Regions from separate parts of the Homo sapiens genome. Here regions 1, 2 and 4 are each linked to region 3. The links are contacts of gene promoters, found by promoter capture Hi-C in blood cells and fetal thymus (Javierre and others, 2016). All regions are on one chromosome and are shown on one strand. Each heading gives the region's core, a stretch centred on a gene start or on the middle of the fragment in contact. The rest is flanking DNA. Distances are from core to core; before and after follow the strand shown. Region 1 overlaps LOC107987026 (a long non-coding RNA gene). Region 2 overlaps LOC107987026 (a long non-coding RNA gene). Region 3 holds the start of IFNA5 (interferon alpha 5). Region 4 overlaps LOC107987026 (a long non-coding RNA gene).

Evidence for each region. The method cuts DNA at HindIII sites, captures the fragments that hold promoters and counts their contacts. A CHiCAGO score of 5 or more calls a contact.
Region 1: a contact is called between a fragment that was not itself captured here and the fragment with the promoter of IFNA5 in region 3, in 1 of 17 cell types (M2 macrophages). The highest score is 5.0, in M2 macrophages.
Region 2: a fragment that was not itself captured here is called in contact with the fragment with the promoter of IFNA5 in region 3 in 1 of 17 cell types (M1 macrophages); the score reaches 6.2 in M1 macrophages.
Region 4: a fragment that was not itself captured here is called in contact with the fragment with the promoter of IFNA5 in region 3 in 7 of 17 cell types (M1 macrophages, fetal thymus, total CD4 T cells and 4 more); the score reaches 6.9 in M1 macrophages.

The regions. Positions count from the first base shown.
Region 1 is chr9:21,738,840-21,741,539 of GRCh38, reverse strand. All of the region lies in intron 1 of LOC107987026 (a long non-coding RNA gene), which reads left to right. Among named protein-coding and RNA genes, the nearest start is that of MTAP, 62 kb to the left of the region's middle. The HindIII fragment of the contact is 2,610 bases long and covers 105-2,700 here.
Region 2 is chr9:21,713,594-21,716,293 of GRCh38, reverse strand. All of the region lies in intron 1 of LOC107987026 (a long non-coding RNA gene), which reads left to right. Among named protein-coding and RNA genes, the nearest start is that of MTAP, 88 kb to the left of the region's middle. The HindIII fragment of the contact is 2,938 bases long and covers 1-2,700 here.
Region 3 is chr9:21,303,987-21,306,686 of GRCh38, reverse strand. IFNA5 (interferon alpha 5) reads left to right here and starts at 1,374. Exons shown (of 1, transcript NM_002169.3): 1 at 1,374-2,361. The coding sequence starts at 1,431. The coding sequence ends at 2,000. The region is part of intron 2 of LOC107987053 (a long non-coding RNA gene); the gene reads right to left. The HindIII fragment of the contact is 5,226 bases long and covers 1-2,700 here.
Region 4 is chr9:21,755,047-21,757,746 of GRCh38, reverse strand. The region is part of intron 1 of LOC107987026 (a long non-coding RNA gene); the gene reads left to right. Among named protein-coding and RNA genes, the nearest start is that of MTAP, 46 kb to the left of the region's middle. The HindIII fragment of the contact is 2,458 bases long and covers 111-2,568 here.

The sequences.
Region 1 (2,700 bases), core at 160-2,659, 430 kb before region 3:
GATCCTGTTGTAAATTGTCACAATCACTGAATAGGACCTTTTCTCTTTTAAAAGAGGCATGAGTTTTTGTGCTTCATAACTCCTAACAGACATGCCAAAAAGCTTAATAAATTATGCTGAATCAGAAGCAACATGGACTGCCAATTCACACATGTCAAAGGTTTCTTAGCACTACTTAAAGTTTGCTTTGACTACCCAAGCCTATGATGGTGTGAGTTTCCAGCATGTCTGGAATGAAAGATCTGGCAGAAAGTTATTTGTTTTCTTTTCCTTGACAAATATCCCCCCTACATTTTCCTGACCTTCCTGACACTCATTATGCCATGCCTCATCATGTTTAGGCCAAGCAACATCCCACATGCTGAAAAAAAATCCAACAATTTTAAGAAAAATAGAGGATTAGGTATCTTGTAGAGGTTGTCCTGAAAACTCAAATAAATAGCTGGTAGGCACACAGTTTGCTATGGTCATGGGTGCTAACACTGAAGGCTTCTGCAGTGCTCACTCTACTGGGCTATTAGTCTAGTAGTGGAGCCAGGTATTAAATCAAATTGGTGTGATATGGATGGAAAGCCAAGAGCTAGAATTGTGGAATAAGAGAAGAAAAGGTTAGGAAGAGTCATGCATATATACCTAAGGAAGAATGACAAAACCAATAGGAATTCTTTTATAGAAATATTAATATAAATGAGTTTTTGATTACTTGCCCTTGTTAAGCATCCTGTATATTGGCCCGCCTGTCCTCTGGCTCCATTATCCACCTTTTCTGCCCTGCTGTGTGCCCACGTTCTCTTGTTAAGACCCTGCCTGATACAGTAGTTGGTACCAAGAGTAGCCTCATGAAACAGACATTCTGGAGAAGATTCTGAAACTAGAGTGGCTCATATGTTTTATGGACACATGAATAAACTCCTTGCTAGACAGAAATCGCACCCTGTTAATGGGTGACAGGTAGCAGTGCCACGATTTCTAAAATTATCATTGGTGATGGTTTTAGGTGATGGAGAGCAAGGTTTTGAGTGATCACATAAAGGTGGCATCTGATTGCTATGCAACAATGGTGGTTACAAAGGTTATAGACACAGTGTGTCAACTGTGCCTGACTGTGTTAGAGAGCTTATTAAAAGAAAACAATAAGTTTAGGGCCTTGAACTGAAAACTTACATCAGGAATCAAGAGAAGACTTTTATAACGTCACAAATAAGGGTATGTACGAGCTCAGCCACAGCACATCAACAACGCTGATCTGGCTATGACCATTGCTGTAGCACAGAGGCCAGCAATGAGCCCCTGATAGAATATGATTCCTGGGAAAAATAGCTGGCCACCTGGAGAAGGCAAAGATGTGTCCACGTGGAACAGAGATGTATTCCAAATTCAAATTTGCTTTCCACGCTTGCAGTGCCTTTGCCCAGACCACTATTCCTGGATGACAGTGTGCCTTATTCACTGCCATCATATCCTTCTTCATAGGGCTTTTATCCAAGGAACTTATTTTACAGCAAAAGGAGTGGCAATGTGATAATACTCATGGAACTCACTGGTCTTAGGACAAACTACATCACCCAAAAGCAAACCGAAGTGGAGAGGAATGGTAGCAGTAGAAGTGATCTGCCTGGGGTGCAAGGAATAAGGGGATGAATTGCCTGCTGAGAATTAGAACCCACTAAAAGCCAGTTGCTTTTCATAAACACTAGGTACTTGCAATCCTAAACAAAATCAGTGAAAAGAGACTCTCCTCAAAGTTTACTCCTTCCTCTTTCCCTTCTTGGTTCTCCATTGAACACTGATTAAGATACCATTTATATTTTCAGATAATTCTTCACCAAAAATAACGTGCTACTGTCTGGGCTATGGGGTTTCAAAAAAAGGTTTTTCTGTAGAGTCTTCTTCCTGTCATGAGATAGTCTCTTACATTCTTTTACATTATGAAGTAGAAAACTTTACATCTGTACCTGAGGATTGCACTGTGAAAGGAATCAATTGGAGGTGCAAGTGTATTATAAATAGGGTGGCAGCATTATTCTTGGAATTGGATTCAAATCATTTAGTAAGAGAGTGAGAACAACTCCAGGTTACAATGTTGGAAGCTATTATTGAGTAAGAACAAATCCAAGAATGAGAGAGGTAAATATGAAATTATAACATTAAAAATAGACAATCATTTTTAAATTTGTGTCCTTCATTTTATCAGATAGGATGTGAAAACACTTATCTCTTCTGTTTAATACTGAGGACCTAACAGATTCTTTAGGTGTACCAGATATTACAAACAATTTTCAGAAAGTCTTTGGCAAAGGATGAAAAGGGGGAGTAAAAGATAGCATTGGGTTAGAGGAGAGAAAAGAAAAGTCTAGCAGACCTGTGATATGCCAGAAACCATCTGGATTTCAAGGCTTATTTCATCTTTTCGGTGCTCCAGGCATGGTGCTTATGATCTTTTCAATGACTGCTGTAGTGAACACTCTGTCCTGCCCAGGTGCTTCCCTCTCCAATTCCTTTCCCCAGCACTATGCCCTGTCCCCTCAGCGTCCGTATTCTCTTTTGCTAAAGGCTCCCTTGCCTCTGCAGAGGACTGTCTTTGGATATATAAACTGTCTCATCACTGAGGGAAGTGCCTGAGAATATTCCTATCCACTGACTGACAGCTGGTGATTGACTGATGGAAGGGTACAAAAGCCTGACTTATTTGCCTCAACA
Region 2 (2,700 bases), core at 61-2,560, 410 kb before region 3:
GAACATTGCTATAAAGATACCCGAAAGTGTGGAAGTGACTTTGGAACTGGGTAATGGGTAGAGGCTGGAATAGTTTGGAGGGCTCAGAAGAAGACAGGAAGATGAGAGAAAGTTTGCAACTTCTTAGAGACTGGTTAAATGGTTGTGATCAAAATGCTGATAATGATATGGACAGTGAAGGCCAGGCTGACCAGGTCTCAGATGGAAATGAGAAACTTATTGGGAACTGGTGCAAAGGTCATGCATGTTATGCCTTAGGAAAGAGCTTGTCTGGCTTGTGTCCATGCCCTAGGGATACGTGGAAGTTTTAATTTGAGAGTGATGACCTAGGGTATCTGGCAGGAGAAATTTCTAAGCGATAAAGTGTTCAAGAAGTGACACGGCTGTTTCTAACAATCTATTCCTATGTGCAGGAGAAAAGAAATGACCTCAAGTTGAAACTTACATTTTAAAGGGAAACAGCATAAAAGTTTGAAAAATTTTCAGCCTAAACATGTTACAGAGAAAAAAACATTTTCTTTTGGGAGAGGAATTCAAGCAGGCTGTGGAGGAACCACTTGCTAGAGAGATTTGCATAACTGAAAATAAGGCAAGTGCTGATAGATAAGATAATGAGAAAAATATCTCAAAGGCATTTCAGAGATCTAAGAAACAGTTCATTGCATCACAGGCCCAGAGGCTTAAGAGGGAAGAATGGCTTCATGGGCCAATCCCAGGGCCCCACTGCCCTGCACAGTGTTGGGACACTGCTCCCTGCATTTCTGCTGTTCCTGTTCCAGTCATGGTTCAAAGGGGCTCAGATACAGCTCAAGCTGCTGTTTCAGAAAGTGCAAGCTATAATTCTTGGCAGCTTCCACGTGGTGTTAAGCCTACAACTGTGCAGAATGCAAGAGTTGAGGCTTGGGAGCCTCCACCTAGATTTCAGAAAATGTATGGAAAAGCCACGGTGTCTAGGCCGAAGCCTGCTGCAGGGATGGAACCCGTATGGAGAAACTCTGTTAAGGCAGTGCAGTGGGGAAAGGTGAGGTTAGAGCCCCTTCCCAGAGTCCGCACTAGGGCACAGCCTAGCAGAGCTGTGAGAAGAGGGCCACTGTCCTCCAAACCCCAGAATAGTAGATCCACCAAGAGCTTGCACTCTGTGCCTGGAAAAGTTCCAGGCACTTAACACAAGCCCATGAGAGCAGTTGTGGGGACTGAATCATGTAATGCTACAGAGGCAGAGCTGCCCAATGCTTTGAGAGCCCACCCCTTGCAGAAGTGTGCCCTGGATGTGGAACATGAAGTAAAAGGAGATTATTTTGGAGTTTAAGATTTAATGACTTCCCTTCTGGGTTTCAGACTTGCTAGGGCCTATAGCCCCTTTCTTTTGGCCAATGTCTTCCTTTTGGAGTTGGAATGTTTACCCAATGCTCGTACCCCCACTGTATCTTGGAAGTAATTAACTTGTTTTATATTTTACAGGCTCACAGGTGGAAAGGAATTGCCTTGTCTCAGATCAGACTTCAGACTTTGGGCTTTTGAGTAAATGCTGGAATGAGTTAAGACTTTGGGGGATTATTGGGGAGGCATGATTGTATTTTGAAATGTGAGAAGGACATGAGGTTTGGGAGGTATCAGGGGCAGAATGATATAGTTTGGATGCATGTCCCCACCAAAATCTCTATTGAAATATAATCCCCAATGTTGGAGATGAAGCCTGGTAGGAGATGATTGAATCAAGGGGGTGGAGTTCTGGTGAATGGTTTAGTACGATCCCTTTGATACTGTCCTCACGTTAAAACAACCAGGTCTCACATGAGTGAATTTTCATGAGACCTGATTGTTTAAAAATATGTGGTACTTCCCCCTCACTTTCTTGCTCATGTTTTGGCCATGTGAAGTGCCTACTCCACCTTTGCCTTTCTTCATGATCGTAGGTTTCCTGAGGCCTCCCAGAAGCAAGCAGATGCCATCATGCTTCCTGTGGAACCTGCAGAACTGTGAACCAATTAAACTGCCTTTCTTTATAAATTATCCAGTCTCAAGGTTTTTAGTTAGATTTTTGGAGATGGAGTCTCGTTCTGTCACCCAGGCTGGAGTGCAATGGCATGATCTTGGCTCACTGCAACCTCTACTTCCTGGGTTCAAGCGATTCTCATGCCTCAGCTTCCCTAGTAGCTGGGATTACAGGCATGCACCACCACACCCGGCTAATTTTTGTATTTTTAGCAGAGATAGGGTTTTGCCATGTTGCCCAGGCTAGGCTTGAACTCCTGGCCTCAAATGATCCACCCACTTTGGCCTCCCAAAGTGCTGGGATTATAGGCATGAGCCACCAAGTCTGGCTCAACTATTTCTTTATATCAATGATAGAACAGACTAACAAAGCAGATTACATTTTTTTTTATTATTATACTTTAAGTTTTAGGGTACATGTGCACAATGTGCAGGTTAGTTACATATGTATACATGTGACATGCTGGTGCGCCGCACCCACTAACTCGTCATCTAGCATTAGGTATCTCTCCCAATGCTATCCCTCCCCCCTCCCCCCTTTGCTTCTCTTACTTCTAATAGTTTGTTTTGTAACCAATAGATTGAAACTGCCACAATTAATAACAATACATGAATACCAGCTGCCATTATGGGCTGTGTCATTTCTGGCAAGAGAGCTTTAATTTTACCTTTTTCTTCCTACTTATGGAAACATAGCAGAGTGCA
Region 3 (2,700 bases), core at 125-2,624:
ATTGAGTTCTTGTTGTTGTTGTTTGTTTGTTTGCTTGCTTTTTGAGGCGGAGTCTCGCTCTGTTGCCAGGCTGGAGTGCAGTGGGGTGGTCTCGGCTCACTGCAACCTCCGACTCCCTGGTTCAAGCAATTCTCCTGCCTCAGCCTCCCGAGTAGCTGGGATTACAGGCACGTGCCACCACGCCCAGCTAATTTTTGTATTTTTAGTAGAGACGGGCTTTCACCATGTTGTCCAGGAGGGTCTTGATCTCCTGACCTTGTAATCCACCCACCTCAGCCTCCCAAAGTGCTGGGATTACAGATGTGAGCCACCGCGCCTGGCCTAATTTGGTTTTCTTGTAACATCAGAAGCATTGACCTTGAGTTCATGGAAGATACACAAAAGGTATACAAGATCAGTGCTACAAGCATATGGCAAATGGGTGGCTGTTATTGGAGGACTTTCCAAGATTTATTAGATGTCAAAGTCATATCATGTGAGGTGGCCTCTGTATACATATGAGCTGTCATTTGCTGTCTTGTGTATGTTGCTTATATTTGATCCTGAGCATTTATGACTGTGTTTTGAGTTTTGAGGTTTCAATAAAAATACTTTATCTTTTACTATTTAATTCTACTAAAGTTGTTCAACACATCAATAATTATGTCAAGCACTGAAGAGAAAAAGGTTTTTGACAATATCTAGATCAATATCTAGAAGCTAGTGAATTTTTTAAATTTCCCTATGAAGCAAAATTGAAAGTACCCTAAAAATAAATGTTACAAATAATTTCAATTTTAATAGTCTTTAGCTATTTTGAATTTTTAAATATTTCATTATACTAGGCAATATTATATATTTTCATAATTTGTTAATTTACTTATTTAATCTGACACACTACAATTTATATAAGTAAATAAATCACATTGTTACTTAAACAAATTGAACTATGAAGTTAAATATCCATAAATTGTAAATTTAATTATTAACTTTTACCTTAGAATTTTCATTTGCTCATTCTTAATCCGGGACTGAATAAATTCTATTTTACATTCTATTACGCTGCTTTTAAAGCATTAAAGAAGTACAATATTCTCTCTCGATAATGGGTACTGTAATGTATATACATCAGCCAACACATAGTATATCTGTGTTATTAAAATTTAATGGGATTTTTAGTTAGAAAAAAAATTTCTAAAAAGCATATGTGGCAGAGGAAGATGAGGTAATAATGTAAAAATAAATAAACTGAGAAACACTCCTGTACATCTATGTAGAAAGAGCATAAAAGAAAGCAAAAAGAGAAGTAGAAAGTAACACAAGGCATTCAGAAAATGGAAACTCGTATGTGACCTTTTTAAGATCTGTGCACAAAACAAGGTCTTCAGAGAAGAGCCCAAGGTTCAGGGTCACTCAATCTCAACAGCCCAGAAGCATCTGCAACCTCCCCAATGGCCTTGCCCTTTGTTTTACTGATGGCCCTGGTGGTGCTCAACTGCAAGTCAATCTGTTCTCTGGGCTGTGATCTGCCTCAGACCCACAGCCTGAGTAACAGGAGGACTTTGATGATAATGGCACAAATGGGAAGAATCTCTCCTTTCTCCTGCCTGAAGGACAGACATGACTTTGGATTTCCTCAGGAGGAGTTTGATGGCAACCAGTTCCAGAAGGCTCAAGCCATCTCTGTCCTCCATGAGATGATCCAGCAGACCTTCAATCTCTTCAGCACAAAGGACTCATCTGCTACTTGGGATGAGACACTTCTAGACAAATTCTACACTGAACTTTACCAGCAGCTGAATGACCTGGAAGCCTGTATGATGCAGGAGGTTGGAGTGGAAGACACTCCTCTGATGAATGTGGACTCTATCCTGACTGTGAGAAAATACTTTCAAAGAATCACCCTCTATCTGACAGAGAAGAAATACAGCCCTTGTGCATGGGAGGTTGTCAGAGCAGAAATCATGAGATCCTTCTCTTTATCAGCAAACTTGCAAGAAAGATTAAGGAGGAAGGAATGAAAACTGGTTCAACATCGAAATGATTCTCATTGACTAGTACACCATTTCACACTTCTTGAGTTCTGCCGTTTCAAATATTAATTTCTGCTATATCCATGACTTGAGTTGAATCAAAATTTTCAAACGTTTCACACGTGTTAAGCAACACTTCTTTAGCTCCACAGGGACAAAATCTTTACAGATGATCATGCCAATCTATCTATTCTATCTATTTATCTATCTGTCTGTCTTCTATCTAATCTATTTAAATATTTATTTATTTATAAGATTTAAATTATTTTAAATTATGTTTGTTCAGGTAATATTACATCCACCTTTACTTTGTGGCTAATATAATAAAATATGTTCTTTATGTTTTGTCAACTGATTATTTTGCTTTGTTCATTAGATTTTTACTATTAATTGTTTGTTTATTCTTTAAAATGAAACTCCAAGCCTGATTGTATAACTTGATTAAAAACAGATGGTACAGTTCAGTTACCTATCATTATTTTATTCAAATTTTAAGTAAAGGAAGATTTTTCTTAAGTGAACATAATAAATACAATTCCTGTTCCCTTGTATCTTTGATTTTTGCCAGAAATTTAACAACAATAATTATGATTAATATGAGTTATGTTAAATGCTATAATGTGAGCTAGGAAAAAAAACAGTGAATTGCTCTCAGCAGAACGCAGATAGAGGCACGTCCAGAAAGAAA
Region 4 (2,700 bases), core at 90-2,589, 450 kb before region 3:
GCCAACGTGTTTTAGCAATCGCTTTTCCATAATAAACTGTAATGCTTTTGCAGAAGGTGGGTCCTGACACAAGGCTTTTTGAGGATTAAGTAGATTTTAGTCATCAAGCTTGATTCCAGCTAGGGCTTTGATATGTTTTCTTTATGTCAGATAATATATGTTTTTTTTTTAAAGAAGTATGATTTCTCTAGGGCAGATGTTTGATGGAAATTTATGGGCAAATTAGATCATCACTGAACTGATTTATTCTCTTGGTGTGTAACATTTAAATATTGATTGTGAGAGTCTCTGCCTTCAAAGAACTTATAGGCTAGTTATTGAGACACACAGCAAATTACAATATAATGTTGAAAATGCTATCAGTGCAATGGGAATCCATAGCAAGGGGTGCCTCAGTAAGATACTTGGGGGTAGGGGATAGGAAGACTGCAGCTTGGGCAGCATCTGTGTTGTCCCGGTAAAGGGAAAGTTATTAGTAGGTGAAGGACCTTAAGAGTGAAGCTAACACAGCCTTGGTGCTGAGGTGAAGGGTGCACACAACTAATACCTAATGATATGTGATAAGAAGCGCAGTGAGAAGTGTGGATCAGATTAGATACCTGGAAAATAGTGGAGAACCAGAAATTATTGAAAGATTACTGTTGATCCCAGTGCTCTTCAGTATAGCTTCAATGCACTTTCAAGGAGATCAGTGTGCACATCAACTTCCTTCGTTTGCCTGCACAGAGACTTTCATCTGAGTGGGCCAAAGTTAGACTCAACCATTCAGGGCCTGAGATTCATTTCTTAAGACCAGTGCTGTTCAAGAGAAATATAATATAATGCATGCCATGTGAGCTACATATGCAATTTTTTTTTACCAGTCACATTAGAAAAATAAAAAGAAACAGGTGAAATTAATTTTACTAATATACTTCAACTCAATAGATCAAAATATCTCAACAAGTAATCAACATAAAAATTGAGATGTTTTGCTTTTTGATACTGATATATTTTATATATATGTAGATATATATATAGGTATTTATACTGTCTCCTAAATCCAGTGTGAAGTTTTACACTCACAGCACATCTCAATTCAGATTATTCACACTTCAGATACACAATAGCAACATGTGGCTGGGGGTTACTGACAAATTAAAGCTACCCAGACCACTCCCTGCACAAGAGTATAACTGTGTTTTGGTTCATCTCTTCACCAGTTAAGGATGCCGAATCCTATGATGTCCTAGAAATCATTCTGTTACTCAGGCATTTACTCATTCATTCATGCCCTTGTTCTTAGAACAAACATTTATTGAGCACCTCCTATATGTGAAATACTTCACTGTGAGAAGGGGAACATTGACCATAAAAATGAATAATACCATCTAGTATCAGAAAGAGAGGCGGAAACAAATATTCACAAGATGTTATGACAACAGTAATAAGTGGAGCAGTGAAGCAGTGATTGTCCATGGAATAGGAAGTGGATATGCCAGAGTTTATGCTGGGGTAGGGGTGGGGAAGGGGAGTTGTGGGTGTTTCAAATTAAACTCATACCCTGGAAATTTCAACCTCACAAGAGAGAACCATTGTTGCCTCACCCATAGAAAGCCCCTTCTCATATAAAACCCCACTGAGACAGCATTACTGATAGGATCATGCCAAATCCCAGGGGTGCTAATGTGCAAAGAAGGTTGCAGGACATTGAATTAAGAGGATATGCAAATTTCTATGGGACACTGGGGGGATTCTGAAGGACTTCATTGAAAAGGTGGTATTTTTGTTGCATTTTGAAGGATAAGTTTATCAATTTAAAGAAGAGCATTCTAGGAAGAGGATACAAAGAATACAATGTGCAAAGGCACGTAAGTGGGGAAGGAGGAAATGTATTATGTTTAGTAAACAATAAAGATTCATATAACTGCATCGTAGGGTGGTGTGTGTGTGTGTGTGTGTGTGTGTATGTGTGTAAAGTGGGTTAGACATGTTTGATAATATAGTTTGGGACTATATTTTGATGAGTAATGTGTACTCCATTAAAAAGTTCTCACCCTGTGTTTTAGGGAATTAACATTATTTCTCCCCACAATCAATACTTTCTTCATAGTCAAATTCAAATTTCAGGAAAATCCTTGATTAGAATTATATCTCTTTGGCTTCTCTTCTACCCCTATCTCTTTTTTTCTGGACAACTGAATTTTCAGACATTAATATGAACCAGTGACTGAAAAACATTTCCTCTGTCAACTAATTTATCTTCTTACTGAATGAATAATCAAATTCAATTGGATTAAACAAGCTGTAATACCACTGTCAAAAGCCATTAGCAATATAAGAGCTTCAAGCCATAAAGAACTATTTTTGTATATCTTAGAGTTTTCTTCATGAAAGGAAAAACTCAAACTAAAGGAAATAATGTGTGTCATTACAAGCTCTGAGTCCTTTAGGGTCTTCTCATCAGCTCTGTGGTTTATTTATTTTTTCTTTTCTTTTTGTCAAGATTAAGAGTAGTGCTGTCTACTTGATTATCTCAAAAGTACAATGTTTTCTTGGCAGGATTAAAAACCTGGATGTATCAAAGCTTGCACATTATTCGAATTTTGAAATAAAAAACAATGAGGGGACATAATGAAAACCAAGGAGGAGGGGTGGGGAACTTGATACCCCCTTCTTCCTTTTGAGAGATCATTTTATCCACTTCCTGGAGCTATTGTA